Linked DNA regions of Homo sapiens: region 1 is linked to region 2. Evidence: promoter capture Hi-C in 16 types of primary human blood cells and fetal thymus (Javierre and others, 2016). All regions are on one chromosome and are shown on one strand. Each heading gives the region's core, a stretch centred on a gene start or on the middle of the fragment in contact. The rest is flanking DNA. Distances are from core to core; before and after follow the strand shown.

What was found. Contacts are between HindIII fragments. The CHiCAGO score rates a contact against its expected background, and 5 or more counts as called.
Region 1: a contact is called between a fragment that was not itself captured here and the fragment with the promoter of OR6K6 in region 2, in 2 of 17 cell types (neutrophils and M2 macrophages). The highest score is 7.4, in neutrophils.

What each region holds. Positions count from the first base shown.
Region 1 is chr1:158,981,510-158,985,960 of GRCh38, reverse strand. It overlaps a transcript of PYHIN1 not described here. Among named protein-coding and RNA genes, the nearest start is that of PYDC5, 19 kb to the left of the region's middle. The HindIII fragment of the contact is 1,925 bases long and covers 551-2,475 here.
Region 2 is chr1:158,753,468-158,757,313 of GRCh38, reverse strand. It overlaps OR6K6 (olfactory receptor family 6 subfamily K member 6), which reads right to left and starts at 2,594. Exons shown (of 1, transcript NM_001005184.2): 1 at 1,423-2,594. The coding sequence starts at 2,426. The coding sequence ends at 1,467. The HindIII fragment of the contact is 1,996 bases long and covers 2,571-3,846 here.

The DNA of each region.
Region 1 (4,451 bases), core at 264-2,763, 230 kb before region 2:
TGGAAGTACTAACAGCAGAAGCTGAGGAAAGCTGAGGAAAGAAATCTCAGAGCTTGAAGATCAGTTCTTCAAATCAACTCAGTCAGATAAAAATAAAGGAAAAAATAATAAAATATGAACGAAACTTCAAGAAATATGAGTTTATGTAAAGAGACCAAACCTACAACTGATTTGCATCACAGAAAGAGAGGGAGAGAGACCAAGCAACTTGGAGAACATATTTGAAGATATTGTCCCTGAAAATTTACCTGACCTTGCTAGAGAGGTTGACATGTAAATTCAGGAAATTCAGAGTACCCCAGCAAGATATTACACAAGATGACAATCCCTAAGACACATAGTTATCCAATTCTCCAAGATCAAGGTAAATAAAACATATGAAAGGCAGCAAAAGAGAAGAGGCAGATCATGTACAAAGGGAACCCTTATCACACTAACAGTGGACCTTTCAGCAGAAATTTTTCAAGCCAGAAAAGATTAAAGGCCTACATTCAGCATTCTTAAACAAAAGAAATTCTAACCATGATTTCATATCCAGCCGAACCAAGCTTTGTAAGTGAAAAAGAAACATAATCCTTTTCAGACAAACAAACACTAAGCGAATTTGTTACCATTAGGCCTGCCTTATAAGAGGTCCTTCAGGGAGTGCTGAACATGGAAACAAAAGGCTGCTACCTGCCACAAAACAACACACTTAAGTAAATATTCCACTGACACAATATGCAACTATACAATCAAGTCTACATAACAACCAGCTAATAACACTATGACAGGATCAAATCCTTACATATCAATATTAACCTTGAACATAAGCAGGCTAACCACTCCACTTAAAAGGCACAGAATGGTAAGTTGGATAAAGAAGCAAGACTCAATTACATGCTGTCTTCAAGAGACCCACCTTACATGTAAAGACACAGGCTTAAATTAAATGGATGGAGGAATATCTATAAAGCAAATGGAAAACAAACAAAATAGAGCAGGGGTTGCTCTTTTATTTCAGGAAAAAAAAAACAGACCTTAAACCAAAAGCTATCAAAGAGGATGAAGAAGGGCATCACATAATGATAAAAAGTTCAATTCTACAAACAAGACTTAACTATCCTAAAGATGTGTGCATTCAGCACTGGCACAACCAGATTCATAAAACAAGTTCTTAGAGACCTATGAAGAGAACTAGCTAACCTCACAATAATAGTGGGAGAATACAACACCCTACTAACATTGTTAGATAAATCATTGAGGGAGAAAACTAACAAAGATATTCAGGAACAAAATTTCACACTTGACTAAATTGACCTAACAGACATATAAGGAACATTCCACTCAACAACAGAATATACATTCTTCTCATCTGCACATGGCACATACTCTGTGCCACATGCTTGGCCACATGCTTGGCCATAAAGCAATGCTCAGGAAATTCAAAAAACAGAAATTATATCAACCACACTCTCAGATCACAGTGCAACAAAAATACAAATCAATACCAAGAAGATCTCTGAAAATCATAGAAGTATTTGGAAATTAAACAACTTACTCCTGAATGACTTTTGGGTAATAAATTAAATTAATGCAGAAATCAAGAAATCTTTGAAACTAATGAAAACAAAAATACAATATATCAGAGTCTCTGGGACACAGCTAAAGCAGTGTTAAGAGAAAAGTTTATAGCACTAAAGGCCTACATCAAAAAGTCAGAAATATCTTAAATTTATACCTAACATCACATTTACAGGAACTAGAAAAAACAAAAGGAAACCAACCCCCAAACTAGCAGAAGAAAAATAATAATCAAAATCTAAGTTGAACCAAATAAAATTGAGATGTGAAAATTCACAAAAATAATTAAGAAAACTAAAAATTGGTTTTTTGAAAGAATAAGATATATAGACCACTAGCCAGATTAATATACAAAAAAAAAAAAAAAAACAGGAGAAGATCCAAATAAATACAATTAGAAATGACAAAGGGGACATTACCATGGAACCCACAGAAATACAAAAACTCTCAAAGACCATTATGAACAATTTCTATGCTGAAAAACTAGAAAATCTAGAAGAAACAGATAAATTCCTGAAAACATACAACCTGCCAAGATTGAACCAGGAAGACATTGAATACCTAAACAGATCAATAACAAGTTCTGAAATTGAATCCATAATAAAATACCTACAAACCAACAAAAGCCATGGATCAGACAGATTCACATCTGAATTCTACCTGATAGATAAGGAGGAGCTGATACCAATCCTACCAAAATTATTCCAAAATATTGAGGAGCGGAGACTCTGCCCTGAATCATTCTATGAGGTCAGCATTATTCTGATACCAAAACCTGACAGAAACACAAAGGAAAAACAAATTCAGGACAATATGCCTGATAAATATTGATGCAAAAGTCCTCAAAAAAAAATACTAGCAAACTAAATCCAGCAGCACAGCAAAAGCTAAGCCACCATGATCAAGTAAGCTTTACCCCTGGAATGCAAAGTTGGTTCAACATACGCAAATTGGTAAATGTGATTTATCACATAAACAGAACTAAAAACAAAAATCACGTGATTATCTAAATAGATGCAGAAAAGGTTTCAATAAATTCAACATTCTTTCATGTTAAAAACCCTCAACAAACTAGGTATCAAAGGAACATACCTCAAAATGAGACATCTATGACAAAACCACAGCCAACATCATATCACAAATAGGCAAAAGCTGAAATCATACCTCTTGAGAACCAGAACAAGACAAAGTTGCCTACTCTCACTACTCCTGGTTCAACATAGCACTGGAAGTTCTAGCCAGAGCAGTCAGGCAAGAGAAAAAAAAATAAAAGACGTCCAAATAGAAAGAAAGGAAGTCAAACTACCTCCTTTTGCAGGTAATATGATTCTATACCCAGAAAACCCCATAGCCTTTGCCCCAAATTTCCCAGAAATTATAAACAACTTCAGCAAAGTCTCAGGATACAAAATCAATGTACAAAAATTAGTAGCATTTCTATACAACTAATAATACCCAAGCTGAAAGCCAAACCAAGAACATAGTTCCTTTCACAATAGCCACACAAAGAATAAACACATAGGAATACAGCTAACCTGGGAGGTAAAAGATTTCTACAACAAGAGTTACAAAATGCTGCTAAAAGAAATTAGAGATGATACAAACAAATGGAAAGACATTTCATTCTCATGGATAGGAAGAATCAATATTGTTAAAATGGCTATATTCTCCAGAGCAATTTACAGATTCAATGTTATTCTGATCAAACTACCAATGTCATTTTTCACAGAATTAGAAAAACTATTCTAAAATTTATATGGAACCCAAAAAAGATCCCAAATAACCAAAATAATCCTATGCAGAAACCACAAAGCTGGAGGCATCACACTATCCAAATTCAAACTATACTACAAAGTTACAGTCACCAAAGTAGCATGGTGCTAGAACAAAACAGATACATAGACCAATGGAACAGGTTAGAGAACCCAGAAATAAAGCTGCACACCTACAACCATTGGATCTTCAACAAAGTTGACAATAACAAGTAATGGAAACAGTACTTCCTATTCAACAAGCAGTGTCAGGATAACTGGCTGGTTATATACAGAAAATTAAAACTGGAACCCTTCCTTTCACCATATAAAAAATCTACTCAATATAAAGTTAAAAAAAACTTATATATGTAAAACCTAAAACTGTAAATGCCCTAGAAGAAATCTAGGAAATACTATTCTGGACATTAGCCTTGGCAAAGACTTCATGACAAAGACTCCAAAAGCAAATGTAGCAACAACAACAAAAATTGACAAGTGAGATCTAATTAAAGATCTTCTGTACAGCAAATTAGACTATCAACAGAATAAAAAGATAGTCTACAGAATGGGAGAAAGTATTTGCAAACTATGATTTCTGAGAAAGGTCTAATATCTAGACTCTATAAGGAACTTAAATCAACAAGCAAAAACCAAACAGTTTCATTAAAAATGGTTAAAAGCCATGAATAGATCTTTCTCAAAAGAGGATCCATGCAACTAACAAGCATGTGAAAAATGCTCAATATCACTAATCATTAGAGAAATGCAAATCAAAACTACAGGGAGATACCAGCTCACACCAGTCAGAATAGCTGCTATTAAAAAGTCAAAAAATAACTGATGCTGGTGAGGTTGTAGAGAAAAGGGAACATTTATACATTGAGGGTGGAAATGCCAATTATATGCCATATTTTTTTATATGGTGAAAGGAAGAGGTCCAGTTTTAATTTTCTTCATACAGCTAGCCAGTGATCCTGATGCTATTTGCTGAATACTTCAGCGACTGTTGAAAACAGTTTGGAGATTTCTCAAATAACTTAAAACAGAACTAACATTTGACCCAGCAATCCCATTACTGGTATATACCCAAAGGAATATAAATTGTTCTACTAAAAGATACGTGCTTGTATATGG
Region 2 (3,846 bases), core at 1,345-3,844:
TCAATAAAGACATGGATCTGGAACCAGACATAATGAATTTCTGCCTTAGATTCATAATAATTATCTCTGTGTACTTGGACTAGTTATTGCAGCTCTGTGTACCATGTTTCTCATGTAAAAAGAAGTTCATATTTATTAAATAGAATTGTTAATGATAAATGAGATAATACATGTTAGGGAATTGTTAAAAATGAGTATTAAATAGCCTCAGGACTAGAAATGATCTTAGTGATCATCCAGCCCAGCTGTTCCTGAATCTTACCCATCATCTGAATTTTCTGGGAGATTTTTAGAAATGCAGATGGCCAGGCTTCACTTTCAGATTTTCTGAACCACAAATGTTGACAATCAGTTTGAGCAATCACTGATCTAATCCAACCACATAATTATAGAGGAAGCTGAAGGCCAGCAAATTAAGTGGATCATCCAAAATGGCACAACTTAGTGTCAGAAAAAGGTATAAAATACAGTCCTTAAATCTCTTTGTCCCATAGTCTTTCCATGATGCCACAATCACGTGAGGGCTGGGGAATTCATGGAGGAAAGAACCATTAACTCCTAGGACTCATTAAAAACTGGTAAGGTTTCATTAAACTTTGGGGAAAAGAAGTTTGCATAATTTAGTTTTTTGAACATCAAGTAATTTACACAAAATTATATATTTAATGGAGACAGAGAATACAGTAGAGTACCTAAGGTTAAATCCCAGCTCTGTCACTACGTATATGACCTTAGGCCAGTCTTTAACTTCTGTGAGCTTTAGTTTCAACATTTAAATAATAGTGATCCCTGACCTATTTACTTCAGGGTATTTTAGATTTCAAGAGGATTTATACCTGTGAAAATATTTTAAATAGTAATGTGCTCAAGACATATAGTGGACTGTTATTGTTATTAATTTTGGTGGAACCTCTTGGGGTCTAAAATTCTGTAACACATCATGTACAAAATCAGTTCACGTTTGCTGAAATGAGTTTGGGAATTAAATGAGCTAAAAGTAGAGAAGACCTCTCTCTAGTATCAGGAAACGATTTATTTATATGGAATGCCAAATGACAGGGGATGCATTTCCAGAAAGGGAATTGGGGAAGTTAGCAGTAGCAATTCTCAGAACTTTCTTGTCTGTCATGCCTCTTCTATTCTGCTTCCCGGCCCCACTAGCATGTCAGAGCACTGAAGAGACTAGCAGGGGCCTAGCTGCTGGAGTGCGAGGAGGAAGCCAACCTGTGTTAAAAGCAAGAGAGTTGATCTATACTGCTTCAGCTATAACAAGCATGGTAGAGGCATTGATGTAAACTGGCCATCCACTTACCATCCACAGCCTGTATACAGCAGTTTATCATTCTTTTTAAAAATAATAGAACAAGTAGTTGCAGCAATACAGAAAGAGGATAGACATGGAAAAGATAAATAACAGTGAAATTTTGCTCTTCCAAGAGGCTTTTTAGAGTCTCCAGGATCTGTATCTATTTCCCAGCCCAACCAGCCCTCTTCTGATAGTGGAAAAGCCTTCCAATAGCCTCTTTCATGTCCTTGTTTTTCAGGCTATAGATGATGGGGTTGAAAAAGGGAGCAAGGATAACAAAAGTGACAGCAATTGCTGTGTCCCAAAACACTGAGTAGGTGGCTGAGAATCTCAAATACATGACAGCCACACTGCCAAAAAATAGCAAGAACACAGCAAGGTGAGCAGCACAGGTGGAAAAGGCCTTGTGATGACCTTCAGCTGAGTGCATTCCCAGAATCACTATAATAATCCGGATGTAGGATAGAGCAATGACCAGGAAGGAGGCTACAATTTCCGCTGCATGGATGGCATCCACAATGACCACTAGGAATGTATCTGTGCAGGCCAAGCTCAGCACAGGTGTGAAATCACAGAATATCTGGTGGATCTGGTTGGAGCCACAGAAAGGCAAGGTGGAAATCCATGCAATCTCAGGAAGCACAAGGAGGAAGCCACAAAAGCAGGATCCAACTGTCAGCTGGATACAAAGTTTGGGAATCATGATGGTTGGGTAACGGAGTGGATTGCAGATAGCTATGTACCTGTCAATGGCCATTGCTGTCAGGACACAGCTTTCTGTGATACCAAGTGAGTGGAAAAAGTACATCTGCAGGAGGCAGCCAGCCACGGAAATGCTCTTCTGCTCACTGATTAGGCAGGACAGCATCTTGGGGATGGTGGTTGTGGTATAGCAGATCTCCAGGAAGGAGAGGACACTGATAAAGAAATACAAAGGGGTGTGCAGGGCCATGCCCACCTGGATGACAATGAACATTATTAGGTTTCCAGTTAGGATAAATCCGTAGATGAGAAGCAAGGGAATAAAGAATAAGAGGCCACCTCTGTGCGCATGCGGGAACATAGAGAAGAGGAACTCAGTCACCATTGTCTGATTCCCACTGGCCGTCAACTGTGTCATCTGTGAACACAGAAAAGGAAACAAGAGACTCCTATAATTGGAATGTTGATTACCCACTGAATATTGCTTCATTCCTTTCTGTAATGAGTTACTCAAGCTGATTCTGGAATCCTGAAGAAACCAGTTAGAAATATCTCTTAAGCTTTACCTCCATGCCAAAATCATCTGAAATACTTGCTGTTGGACCCCTGAATGACCTTTTTTTTTTCTAGTAAACATCTTCAACTGATGTGCAAAAAGCAAAGCAATACTCAAATTTCATTATCTGGAAATATTTTCTGTAGGTTTGGTCATTTTTTAACGTCTGTCTGTCCCGGGTGTGAGGTGAGAAAGCTGACATGGTTTCTTCAATAGGTCAAAAGCAGATACAAATAAATGCATTTCAGACTAGGAAAATTAATTATTATTATTATTTTTTGAGATGGAGCCTTGCTCTTATTGCCCAGGCTGGAGTGCAATGACTCAATCTTGCCTCACCACAACCTCCGCCTCCCGGGTTCAAGAAATTCTCCTGTCAGACTAGGAAAATTAATTTTTAAAGGATGCCTCTGCCTTGCACCTTAAACTGTGAGGAAGGTAGATAGGAGAGGCAGGCTTTGGAAGGAAACAAGCAACAGTGCGCCACAGAAAGGCAGAGCTTCCAAGGGGAAAAGTGTAAGATATTGGAGTTTTCTTCTGACTAAAATATCCACTTCTCTGTCCTTCCTGTGTTTTTCTTTTCTAAGCAATTGAATAATCGTGCTGAGTAGTCATTATAGAGAATATGGAAGGACAGAGAAGGAAACACAGGGCTATAACAAAATACAAGAAAATAGGTGCTAAGTGGCTAATAAAAGCCAGACAGAGTGACTACTTTGTTGCTGTACGCACGGGGCCCTTCTCAGTAGTAAAGCTGCATCATTATTCATCATCGGTACATTTATTCAACTAACACTCATATATCGATTGATCTTCTGCTATGTGTCGATGATGCCATAGGTTCAAGGGCTATATAAAGGTAAATAAATATTATTCTTGTTCCTGAAATACATAAAGAACCATCAATAAAATCCTACTGTTAAAGATATTTAGTAGTGTCCAAGGAGTTCAATCTAAAAATATTTCTTGTATGACGTAAAGACACTTGAATTAGATTAGACTTGACTTTGAAGAAAAGCAGTAACTTTCTCTGTGACTCTTCAAGAATCCACAATTATTAGGGTTTCAACAAGATTTAATGTTTAAAAGACCTTAGACATTATCAGTATCTTCAAACTGTTAGCTGAACCATATTCTTTCTGTTATCCCTTCCCGATTTCATTTACCCTTAGTATAATATTTCACTCATGTAACAAAGTTCTTAAAATATGACAGTTTGCCGTGAAACAGCAGGGCAACAGTTGGGTTCTGAAGAGTTGAGGATGTAAGGAAGCTATTGGGC